2 separate regions of the Homo sapiens genome follow, and region 2 is linked to region 1. Evidence: promoter capture Hi-C in human tissues and cell types (Jung and others, 2019). All regions are on one chromosome and are shown on one strand. Each heading gives the region's core, a stretch centred on a gene start or on the middle of the fragment in contact. The rest is flanking DNA. Distances are from core to core; before and after follow the strand shown.

The links. Contacts are between HindIII fragments. The study calls those that stand out against the background at their distance.
Region 2: a fragment that was not itself captured here is called in contact with the fragment with the promoter of MRAS in region 1 in 2 of the 25 tissues and cell types used here (liver and thymus).

Annotation. Positions count from the first base shown.
Region 1 is chr3:138,344,866-138,351,180 of GRCh38, forward strand. It overlaps MRAS (muscle RAS oncogene homolog), which reads left to right and starts at 3,714. Exons shown (of 6, transcript NM_001085049.3): 1 at 3,714-3,902. RefSeq lists an enhancer at 3,226-4,181. The HindIII fragment of the contact is 6,288 bases long and covers 1-5,965 here.
Region 2 is chr3:138,666,285-138,672,855 of GRCh38, forward strand. The region is part of intron 19 of PIK3CB (phosphatidylinositol-4,5-bisphosphate 3-kinase catalytic subunit beta); the gene reads right to left. Among named protein-coding and RNA genes, the nearest start is that of FAIM, 61 kb to the left of the region's middle. The HindIII fragment of the contact is 4,333 bases long and covers 604-4,936 here.

The DNA.
Region 1 (6,315 bases), core at 2,464-4,963:
CAAGTGTAGGACATGTTGCAGTGGATGAAGTATGTTTGTTTTGTCCTGCTCTGGGTCAGTTCAGTGGCTCTGACTTTAGCCAGAAATTGGCTCCTGGCCCTGTGTCTGACCTTGGACCTCTGTGGATTAAATTTGGGCCTGAGCCTTGCCTGGGTTTTTGGCTAGGTGTCTGGCCTTCTGCCATGCCTCAAACACACCTGATCAGCCAGGCACATCTGCCAGAGACTTTGGAAAGACTTCTGCTCAATCATCCTTCAGCATATAAGGTTTTCTCCTTCCCTTCTCAGCCTAGCTAATTTTTGTTTTTTGAGATGGAGTTTCACTCTGTCCCCCAGGCTGGAGTGCAGTGGCAGGATCTCAGCTCACTGCAACTTTCGCCTCCCGGGTTCAAGCAATTCTCCTGCCTCAGCCTCTCTAGTAGCTGGGACTACAGGCACCCGCCACCACACCTGGCTAATTTTTGTTTTTTTTTTAGTAGAGACGGGGTTTCACCATATTGGCCAGGTTGGTCTTGAACTCCTGACCTTGTGATCTGCCTGCCTTGGCCTCTCAAAGTGCTGGGATTACAGGCATGAGCCACCACACCCGGCCCTAGCTAATTGTTATTTGTCCTTCCAGATGTGGCTCAGTCATCAGCTCTCACAGAAGTCCTTCCCTTGGCACTTGCCTCCTCGCCATATTGGATTAGGTGCCCTTCCTCTGGTCTTCCACAGTCCCTGTGCTTCTCTGTTCCACACCACTTGCTCCTCAGTTGGCACTCAGCTTGCTTGAAGGCAGGTCTCTGCCCCAGTGCCCGGTACTCAGTAGATGCTCTGGCAGTGTTTACTGGATGAATGAAGCTTTTCTGCTCAGTGGCTCTGTTCTCTAAGCCCCCATTTGCCAGCAACTGAGCCACAACTTGTATTTCAAGGTTCAAAGAGCAGAGGAGGCAGCTCAAATGGAACAGCCCATCCGCAATCGCAATCTGCAAGATTTACTCTCACCATTAGGCAATCTTAGGTAGGTCAAGCACAGTGTCTCACACTTGTAATCCCAGCACTTTGGGAGACCCAGATAGGTGGATTGCTTGAGTCCCAGGAGTTCGAGATCAGCCTCGGGAACATCTCTACAAAAAGTACAAGAAGTAGCCAGGCATGGTGGTGCACACCTATAGTCCCAGCTACTCAGGATGCTGAGGTAAGAAGATGTCTTGAGTCCGGGAGGTCGAGGCTGCAGTGAGCTATGATGCTATGATCATGCGACTGCATTATAGCCTGGGTGACAGAGCGAGACTCTGTCTCAAAAAAAAAAAAAAAAAAAAAAAAAAAAAAGGAGAATCCCAGGTACCTGGGTATGACTATTAGCTGTTTAAGTTCCATTTCTGAGAAGAGGTATTATTACAGATATGTGTATAAAAGCAGTATAAAGACATCTCTTTGACTCTTGCATAGATGTTGGCTCAGCTCAAGCTGAGGGCATGGTCAGGGTCTTGTGCCAGTCAGGGCCCAAGAGAGGACATCTCTTACATGGGGAGCCCACGAGGGGCTGACAGGCCACCAGGATGTACAGATCCCTGCCCGCCTTCCCAAGTTCTGTGGTAAATAGAGGGGGTTGAGGGAGTCAGGTTCCAGGGCAAACCTAGACAGTCGAGGTAAACTACTGTCCCTCAAGCCTTCTCCCCAACCAGGTCTTTTACTCCCTACTGCCAAGGAGAGATACTCTTGATGGCACCCAACCTGCTGTCCCCTTCCTGGGGGACACTTGGGGTCTACAGGGTCTTTGGAGCAGCAGGTGGGAGTGGAGGCACAGGGGGTGCACAGCAGCTCCCACCAAATGGCTGCATGGGTGGCTGGGATGCCAAAGGAAGCCTGCATGGGATTAAGAGCCTCAGCATGGCAGGCAGAGCCAGCAGCACTGTGAGGCTCCCTTAGGCCTGGGGCAAACCTGAGAAGGGAGTGGGTTCCCTGGACATGTAAAGCTGGTTCTAAGTCATTGAGGTCCACCCAGAAAAAGAATGTCCTCAGAAATGATGCTGACAATCAAAACCACAATGAAATGCCATTTCGCCCCCAATAGGATGACTAGAATAAAAAAAGACACACAATTACAAGTGTTTGCAAAGATGTGGAGATATTGGAACCCTCATATGTTGTTGGTGGGAATGTAAAATGGTGCAGCTGCTTTGGAAAACAGTTTGGCAGTTCCCCCAAAAGTTAAACATGGAGTTAACATATGATCCAGGAATTCCACTCTTAGGTATATACCCAAGAGAAAGAAAAGCATATGTTCATACAAAGACTTGTACATGAATATTCATAGCAGCTTTATTCACAGTAGCCCCAAAGCAGAAAACTAAATATCCATCAAGTGATGCAGGGATAAACAAAACGTATAGACATACAGTGAAATATTACTCAGTCATGAAAAGGAATGAAGTACTGCTACATGTTACAACATGAATAGATCATTAAACATTGGTTACTGAAAGAAGCTAGTCATAGTCACAAAAGGCCACATGTTGTATGATTCCGTTTATAGAAAATGTCCTGAATAGGGAAATCCATAGAGATTGAAAGTAGATTAGTGGTTCCCAGAGGCGGAGGAAAGGGGTGAATGAGGAGTGACTGCTAACGGGTAGTTCTTTTTGTGAGGGGCAGGGGAGGGGAGTGGGAAGTGGTGAAAATGTTCTGGAATTAGCTCATGGTGATGGTTGCAAAACTTTGTGAATATGCTAAACACCACTGAATCGTACACTTTTTTTTTTTTGAGACAGCGTCTCACTCTGTTGCCCAGGCTAGAGTGCAGTAGCGCAATCTCGGCTCACTACAACCTCTGCCTCCCGGGTTCACGTGATTCTCCTGCCTCAGCCTCCCGAGTAGATGAGATCACAGGCACGTGCCGCCATGCCGGGTTGACTTTTGTATTTTTAGTAGAGACGGGGTTTCACCATGTTGCCTAGGCTGGTCTTGAACTCCTGACCTCAGGCGATTCACCCGCCTCGGCCTCCCAAAGTGTTAGGATTACAGGCGTGAGCCACCGCGCCCGGCTTGAATTGTACACTTCAAAAGGTGGAATTTTATGGTGTTGAATTATATCTTTATTTTTTTAACGGGGGGAAAATGACGCCGCTGGAGAGGAGTTAGCGGAACTGAAACAATGAAATGGTGCGCGAGTGTCGCCTGTCCCCGTCGCATCCATCCCAACGAAGTTTGGGCCCTGGAACGGTGCACCCAGAAGGCCTGCGGGGAGAGACGCTGGGGCATGATCTGGAAGAAAGACGTCTCAGGATTCGAAGGGAATGCAGCTAAGGTGGCGGCGGAGGTTCGCCTAGGACTGGGGAGGCGTCCCTAGGCTCAGAAGTTGGCCCGGCCGGAGCGGAGATTTAAAGGTTGGAGCGCAGAGGCTCTTAAAGAGGCCGAGTCGAATTCCCACTCGGCGTCCACCTTAAAGCCAGCTCCCCGGCACCACGGATCTGACCCGGGTAAGTGCTGGGCCGCGGGAGAGGCTGCGGCGCCGACCCCAGCCCCTGGCGCTCTAGCGCGCCCTGCCGGGCCCAGGGGACTCGGCGCGGGTGGGCTGGACTTCGTAGGCGCGCGTCCTGGGGGCCGGGGTGCACGCGGGGGCGACAGGGTCGAGGCACCCGGCCCGGGCTCCCCACTGGCGCGCCCGCAGCGGCGCTCTATTTTTAGCAGGCGCTGTGGCAATATAAGGAATGCGCGGCGCGCTAGGCGCTCGGGGCGCACGCTGGCGGCGCGGTCGCTTTAAGGAGGCGCCGGGGCGGGGACGGACCGGAGTGGCCGGCTGGCGGGGAGCCGTCAGTCCGGCGGCCGCGGGGCCCGGCGGGCGCGACGCTGCCTCCTCACCGGCGCAGGCTAGGAGGGGGCGGCCTGAGTGCCGTAGCCGAGCCGGGGCTGGAGCGCGCGGTGAGTGGTCGGGCGGCCTTGGAGGGGAGGGGGCCCGGCCGCGCCGCCTCTCGCCCCGGCCGTCGCTTTGTTCCGGGGCGGGAGGTGTGGCCGCCCTCCGGGCTCGGCCGCGCTCTCCGCTTGCGGGGTGCGCCCTGGGACCGGCTGTGCGTGGCGTTTTGCCCCCATCGCGGGCTCCCGCGTAACGGTGTGCGTTCGTGAAATCGGCCACGACCAAGACCCCAGTGGGGAGGGCCTGCGCGCCGCTCAGAGAGACCCTTTCATGGTAATTACAGTTCCTTGGCTGCCTGGGCGAGAACCCGGTGGATAGATGGGCGGCAGGACGGGGCGGCGGGGGATGGGTGGGTGGGTGGGGGACTCTTTACCCCCCCGCCTTAAGATGGCGTTAACGAGGGGAGGGATCCGCCAGGGAGTTGACAAATTCATCTGAATAATAAAACGCAGCCTGCTTCATAAACAACCCTTCACTGCCCCCGGAGGTTTGGGGAGCTGGAGCTGTGGTCACAACTAGGGCCTGGGCTCATGCATTGAACTGATCTGGCTGAGGCATCAGACACGGTGCCAGTCCTGCCCTGCGGGGAAGACAAGAGCACAAAGTGACAAGCCAGTGTGGTAAGTGCTGAGATTCGGTAAGCCCAGGGGTTGTGGGAGCCCCTAGGGGTCCCTACTGCAGAGTGGGAGGTGAGAGAAGGCCGCCTAGAGGAGTTAATGTCTGGCTGGCCGCAGCGTATACACTGGACACCCAGTTAGACTCTGGCTAGAGCTGAGGTCTGTTCTGGCCTGGGGCAAAGTGGAGTCTGGAGAGGTGGACAGAGTCCATCAAGGCCACTGGGGCCTTGATCATAGAGCTCTGCCATTGCCCCTACTCCCCAATGGCCCCTGATGGTGTGGAACCTCCCTGGCCTTGCTCCTCTAGGACTCACTCTGTCCTGGACCTGACCAGAGAGGGTGGCTGACAAGGCTCGGAATCGTGGCCTCCAGAGGTTTGTCTGGCAGCAGAAGTAAGATGGAGATATGACTTTAAGAGCTCTGAAACTCCACTGTAATAACAGCAACCAACAGGGCTTCCAAAGACCAGGCACTTGAAGTGGATTTGCTCATCATTTGACAAGACACCTCTTGACAAGACACCTCCAGAAGGATTTTGTTTATTGTAAAGGATGGAGGAACTGGGGTGAAAAAGAGCCAACAGCTTGCCCAAGATCATATCTGAAGTCCATGCTTTTGGCCACGTGGCTGTCCTGGGCTTCGGAAGGCTCTGGTGCAGCCTGTGTTAGAGTTTTGTAATATATTGTTTTATAATTATTCACTATAGACATTCACTGGTGGGTTGAAGTGTGAGGCAGTGAGCTGTGGGTATTAATAACTGACTCGTGTCAGAAGCTTAGCAGTGAACAAAGCACTTTCTCGGATACGGTTCTTAGAGCTTCTCCTGCTTCTTTTCCCGGGGAAGAAACTTGAGCTGCTAACATTTTGTAAACCTCCTAATTTCCTGTAAATCACATGTCCCTGCTGAGTGGGGCTGAAAATGTTTCGGGCAATGGTTTTCACCCTTAGGTCTGTTCACACTGCCCAGCAGCCAGTTAGCTTCTCTCTGTAGTTTATGGTGTAGTTTGTCCTTTTTCTGCCGGGGTGGGAGGCATGGGGCTTTCATGCTCTGGGGTTTTTGAGGTCTGCCAGCCTCTGGGGAGGGAGGTGTTGGGCAAGCCTCGTGCTCTGGTGGAAACTGACCCCCTAGATGTGACCTCGGCATTTCCTAAAGCTGGGGGCGGGACTGGGGTAGGCGGTAGTCAAGGCCCTTTGGTGAAGCAAGCGATTGTCTCCAGCGTTGTCAGCTTCGCTCCTCCATAAGACAGTTGCTAATTTCCACCTCTGTTTTCACCTACATAAGACACTTTATGACAGGTTTAACTTTTATGTTATTATTAGCTCTAGCCACTGGTATTTCATACTCAGTTCGTCTGAGCTACTTATAAAGTGACAAGTCCAGCCAGGGCAACATGGTGAAACTCCGTCTCTACAAAAATTAGCTGGGCCTGGTGGCATGCACCTGTAGTCTTAGCTACTTGGGAGGCTGAGGTGGGAGGATTGCTTAAGCCCAGAAGGCAGAGGTTGGAGTGAGCCATGATCACGCCACTGCACTCCAGCTTGGGTGACAGAGCAAGACCCTGTCTCAAAAAAAAAAAAAAAAAAAAAAGTGACAAGTCAGTTACCCTTGGGGTTGGTTTGGTTCCTAAGCTCTAGTGATCACCTGGAACCAGGAATGACTATTGGCCTCTGATAAATTAGGCTCCTGGGATGACTGGTCCTAACCTCAGTCAGAATCACATGTTGACCAGCCTCCTGGATCTAGTGAGTTCTCAGGGAAATGTGGCTTCCATAATATATTTCACATCAGATTTAACCATTGTAA
Region 2 (6,571 bases), core at 1,520-4,019, 320 kb after region 1:
CCTTGGCTCTAGAATAGCTGGGACTACAGGTGAGTGCCACTACGCCTGGCTAGTTTTTTTATTTTTTTGTTTTTTGTAGAGATGAGGTCTTGCTTTGTTGCTAAGCTTGTAACTCCTGGCTTCAAGTGATCCTACTGCCTTGGCCTCCTAAAGTGTTGGGATTACAGGCATGAACCATTGCACCTGGATCTTTTAAGCATTCTAAGATTTCTTTTGTGACTTAGCTATTTACATTCTTTGCCTATTTATTAGGGCTTTAGACATTTTCTTCAGTAACTTATATGAGCTCTTTGTATATTAATATTACCTTTTTCTCATTTTGGTTGCAAATATTTTCTCTAATTTCTATTATAATAAGAACACCAAAATGGAATGAGATATCTTGAAAGGTTCAAATAAAGATCAGGTAGCTACAGAAAATACAATGGATGGAATTCATGCACTCAGTAAATACTCGGGTACAGCTAACCAAGCATTGTGTTAGATCCTGGTGATACAGAAATAAGCAACAAACAAACAAGAAAACCAGAGCAGCAGTCCCTACACTCACTGAGCAAATGTACAATGTGCATGTGTGATCTCTGTATAAGGAAGAAGTGCCAGGAGAACATGGCAGGAGTCAAAAAAGACTTCCTGGCCGGGTGCGGTGGCTCACACCTGTAATCCCAGCACTTTGGGAGACCAACGTGGGTGGATCACAAGGTCAGGAGATCACGACCAGGTCAGCAGATCTGGCCAACATGGTGAAACCCTGTCTCTACTAAAAATACAAAAATTAGCTGGACGTGGTGGTGTGCTCCTATAGTCCCAGCTACTTGGGGGGCTGAGGCAGGAGAATCGCTTGAACCCAGGAGGCGGAGGTTGCAGTAAGCCGAGATTGCGCCACTGCACTCCAGCCTGGCGACAGAGCGAGACTCTGTCTCAAAAAAAAAAAAAAAAAAAAAAAGACTTCCATGTGGAGGAATGACAGCAGGGCTGGAGGAGAGCACAAGGGGGAGCACAACAGAAAGATGAGGAAGACACAGTAAGTGGTGAAAAGACCATGCAGGTTCCTGTTGGCCATGTAAGGACTTCTGTCATACTCCTAAAAGCACTGAGAAAGCTTCCGAAGGACTTTATGAGCGACAAAGAGAGGCTGTGTGTGTGTTGTGGGGAGGAGGGAGTATATGAGTGTGTTAGCATGTATCACAATCAGATAGTTTCTAAAATTAAACAGTTTCTAAAAGTCCTTCAAAAAAATTGAATTATTTTATGCTTTTTTATTTATTTTTATTTTATTTATTTATTTATTTTTTGAGACAGAGTCTCGCTCTGTCGCCCAGGCTGGAGTGCAGTGGCGCAATCTCGGCTCACTGCAAGCTCCACCTCCCGGGTTCACGTCATTATCCTGCCTCAGCCTCCCGAGTAGCTGGGACTACAGGCGCCTGCCACCATGTCTGGCTAATTTTTTTTTTTGTATTTTTAGTAGAGACGGGGTATGCTTTTTTAAAAGCACTTTTCATCCGGGCACGGTGGCTCATGCCTGTAATCCCAGCACTTTGGGTGGCCGAGGCAGGTGGATCACCTGAGATCAGGGGTTCGAGACCAGCCTGGCCAACAAGCTGAAACCCTGTGTCTACTAAAAATACAAAAAATTAGCCAGGCATGGTGGCAGGCACCTGTAATCCCAGCTACTCAGGAGGCTGAGGCAGGAGAATTGCTTGAACCCAGGAGGCGGAGGTTACAGCGAGCTGAGATTGCACCATTGCACTCCAGCCTGGGCAATAAGAGCAAAACTCCATCTCAGAAAAAAATAATAATAAAAGCACTTTTCTAGTTCTAGCAAAATGAGGTTGGGGGCAGAACTGTCAAAATACAAAATAAGAGAATGAAGCATTCTCCTAATGCAGCATTAATGTTTTTAATGAGACCCCTTATTCTTATCATGACATAACACATGTAAAGCAAACACTGCCAGGTTAAAGTGCACTTTCTCACTTTCCTGCATCTCCTCTCACTCCAGTTGCAGCCAAGGTAGGCAGAAGTCCAATAACTTCCTTTTCAAAAGCAGGCAACGATGAAAGCTTTCAGTGCCTTGAGGGTAGAATGTTCACAATGAGAAGGAAAAAACATCCTTCTCAGAGAGTTTGACAGAAGTCAAGCTGGGGACAAACTCTTGGAGCCCTAATCATCTCACCTAGGTACCCTCTGCACTCAACTTCTACACTTCTTACAAAGGCCAAGACTACAATTTCAGTAATGTTTACCCTCCTTTCTCAGACTCTCTGACTGAAGTAGCAATCTGTTACCTTTCACACTAAATCAAACATTTAAAAATGAAATAAATTCTACAACACGGGGATGGCAGCTCCATATCCTTACTCTAAACAGGTATATAGCAAGTTATCTGGCTTTAAAAATTTGTTTTACAACTTGTATATATTCATGGGGTAGAAGTACAATTTTGCTACATTGATATATTGCACTGTGGTGAAGTCAGGGCCTTCAGTGCATCCATCACTGTAGCAACACACATTGTACTCACCAAGCAACCTGCCATCAACCACCCATGCCATCCCTCTAAGTCCCCACTACCCATCAACCCACACCCTGCTTCTATGTGTATATATTATTTAGCTTCTACTTATGAGTGATATTATGTGGTATTTATCTTTCTTATCTCTGATTCTGACTCTGACACAATGACCAAAGTCTGAGTAGTACCTTAGCCATGGCTTCCAAAGGAGAAAAGTTTAAATCTTTTACCTAATGCTTGCATTATTTCCACCTTCTTCCTCCAACCCTCTGAGATGCTGACACCACTATCATTAAATAACTTTTGTATAGGTCTCTTAAAAGGGAAGTAGGCCAGGTGCGGTGGCTCACGCCTGTAATCCTAGCACTTTGGGAGGCCAAGGTGGGCGGACTGCTTGAGTCAAGGAGTTTAAGACCAGCCTGGGCAACATGGTGAAACTTTGTCTCTACAAAAAGTAAAAAAATTAGCCAGGTGTGATGACAGGTGCCTGTGGCAGCTACTCAGGAGGCTGAGATGGAAGATCACCTGAGCCCAAGGAGTTGAGGTTGCGGTGAACCATGATTGTGCTACTGCACTCCAGCTGGGGTGATACAGTGAGACCCTGTTTCAAAAAAAAAAAAAAAAAAAGGGGGGGGGGATGTAAAATGTAAACTCCATTAGTGTAATTCAGATATGAAGTCTTAATGGAGGCAACTGTCAAAAAATTGATTTCACATGTATTTGTTGGGGTAGAGTGGGGGTGTGCAGAGGACTGGCAAATCTACCCACGGCCAGATAGGTTTATATGTAGCCAGCCTATAAGATTTGCTTATTACTTCTTCACCAAAGGAGGTCAGGGAGTCCTAACACATCAATGTCTTATAAATGATCTAAGCTGACATGAAAGGTATCAAAAGAGTATTTTGGAACGTCATAGAAAAATGAAAATGAGCATTATGTATTTTCATTCATGCAAACATGGCACTGTTACAAGTACTAAAACAGTAATGTACAGAAGGTACCTCAAGATTTGGGATTGACCTTAAAAGAGTGTGTGCTACATGACCCACTTTAACCTAAACAGCTGGCCGAAAGAAAAAACAAACAAAATAGAAACATTGGAGCACATATATTTATAGAAACAGTAAAAAAGGTTTGGTGAGAAAAAGGTACCAGTTTGGAAATGAACTTAAAAAAAAATTAAAGTCCTTCATTTTTTAAAAACATGGGGTCAAAGTACAAAAAGTCAGCAAAGATCTCACTGGACAGACAAGTTCCTTTTTCTTCGCACAATGCTTCCCATCAGCTAGACACTAGGTTTATTTCCAGCACTCCCACATGTGGGTGCCTCCCATTGTCTGAGGTCACAATGAACTTCATTTGATGCTAAATGTGCTTTACATTTAGATAAATAAAATCAAAACTAAGAGAGAATAACTTGGTTGGGGTTTTCAATTAGGCTGATGGAACTAAGAATGCCAGGAAACAGTCTTTAGCTTAGCTTTTCATAACTAAATGAAGCTCATGATATGGCCTGAATCTACTAATTAGCAAAGGAGACCACTGTGTAGCTTCTGTGCTAACCTTGGAAAGAACAAATGAGTTACTAAACTTCAGCTTAAAGTTTCCCTCCTTTTTTGTGGGATCAGTCAAGTAAAAACATATTCCTGGGGGCTTACTTTATATAGGAGGAGTTGGTAAACTCTTCCCAGAATGAGCCAGATAATAAATATTTTAGGCACTACAGACTAAACACTCAACTCTGCAGTTGCAGCACAAAAGCAGCCATACATAATATGTAACCAAGTGGCTGTGTGCCAATAAAATTTCATTTACAAAAACAGGTAGCCCAGGTCCAACTGGGTTTATGGTCCTCAAGCAGACAGTTTATTCTAATGACCTATTCCTCTTATCTATGCAGTATACCTTATGAGTGTTTGAAAAACTAGCTACCTATTCAAAGCTACTAATTCTATTTTTACACAGCTGCATTAGAAATTCCTCCTAATTTAAAAGAAAAAAATCTGTCACCTGTAGTAGCCACAGTGTCCTTTTTAGATGAATTATGATCTCTTTTCTTTATTCTAATCACAGCTACAATCCCAAATTGCTCTTTCTACCTTTACACTACTGGAAAGTGTAACTTGGAAAAACCTAAAAATAAAAAATTATTTCTTTTTTTAAAAAAAAGGAAATTTAGGTATTTTAGGCACCATTATACTCTGATAAACAAAGAGTAGTACTAGACATGTCTTACCACATTATTTTCTCACTTAGCCAGACTGGTAAAATAATAAACAGGCATTAATTTAGAGTCTGACAGTCCTGGATTTGAATTTAGCTCTGCCATTTAATATTTCTGTAACCTTTGTTTAAAACCTCTAGCATTTTAATTTTTAATGTGTTAAAAAGAAATAACATAGCCCCATAGATATGTAAGCCTATACGATATTACTTACGAGAAGAACTTAATACAATGCCTGGTTCAGTCAATAAACAGCAAGGGTTGCAAGTTTTAAAAATATATATACACATATGTTTCATAATAACAGACTATAACTGAAACTTAAGAAATTAATCAGGAGATATTATAATCTTGCAGGAACAAAGTCGATCACACGTCTAACCGTTTCCAGCAACCTTGTAGACTAAGGTTGTTGCAGATACTAAATCACATTAAAAAAATGATGAAGTCCAAAGGTTTTATAAATAGGTGTGGTTAAAAAAGAAAGAAAAAAAGACCTCTAGGTTCCAAAAATAGAGATTTCTCACAGCAGTGGCTCAGGAAGTTAGACTTGGCTGACATTTCAATGCCCACCAAAAACAGTCACGGACTTAGGCCCATGAGGTAGGATCTGGACCCGACAAAGAACTGTTAGGAATAACACTCAAAATCCTAAGGAAACTGAACACTTGAACAAAGGATTCTTAGCAAAGCAATTTTACTTCTGCGTAGAGGGGTGCCTCCTTGGCCAGTTGCCATGAGAGCACACCTGAACAAAGGGGCACGACAGCCTTTATTCCTGACGCAAGTCCTGCCTCTGCATTCTTTCCCCATTGGCTGGGGTTGGGTTGTACAATCTAAACTAATCCTGGTTGGCTAAACATCTGAATTTTTTTAGATAGGGTGGGCACATGAAGAAAAAGTGGAGAGAAAGGGGAAGGGGTGTCTGTAATGAGCTAGAAAGTTAGTCCTCTTTCTAAATAAGGAAAGGAATGTGAGCTGGTACTGATAACGCTTGGTACTGTGGTGTGCCTGGGGATCTAACAAAGGCAAAAAGGAAAAAAAAGGAGAAAAAGGAGAAAAAAAGTGGGGGGGTTCTATAAATTAACGAACAAAAGATTGATCAGATTATTTGAAGAGGAACCTCATCATATCCCACACTACACAAAACTGAGGTCTGGGAGGACTGGAACTCGAAATATCTTTTCATTGATCAGATGATGTGGCATGAAAGTTTCCCATCTACCCCAGAAACTGGGTAGGCAAGAAAAAAAAAAAGTTTCATGTAAGTGCAAAACTTCAAGCCTTCCCACACTCTCTTATGAGATCTAAATATAAACTATCTATGAGGTGTGATGGTCTGAAGGCAGGGAGTTAACATAAAAACTGGCTGATTGTGTGTACAGGCCTTTGGCAACAGCTCAAACAAAATACAAACTCATTTTTAGAGATCCATTCACAACCCAGGGAGCAAAGGACCTTTACAGAAAACATAATTATCCATCAATAATGAATTCAAAACTGAGTATTATTAACTATATAAGGAAATGAATAAAGTCACGCAGATAAATGAAAAAGTAATATCCCAAGAACTAAAAAAGAACAATCTGAAAGAGACTTTAGGCTGGGCGTGGTGGCTCACGCCTGTAATCCCAGCACTTTGACCTGGGAGATGGAGCCAGGCGGATCACCTGAGGTCAACAGTTCAAGACCAGCCTGGCCAACATGGTGAAACCCTGCCTCTACTAAAAATACAAAAATTAGCCGGGCGTGGTGGTGGGTTCCTGTAATCCCAGCTACTGGGGAGGCTGAGGCAGGAGAATCGCTTGAACCTGGGAGGTGGAGATTGCAGT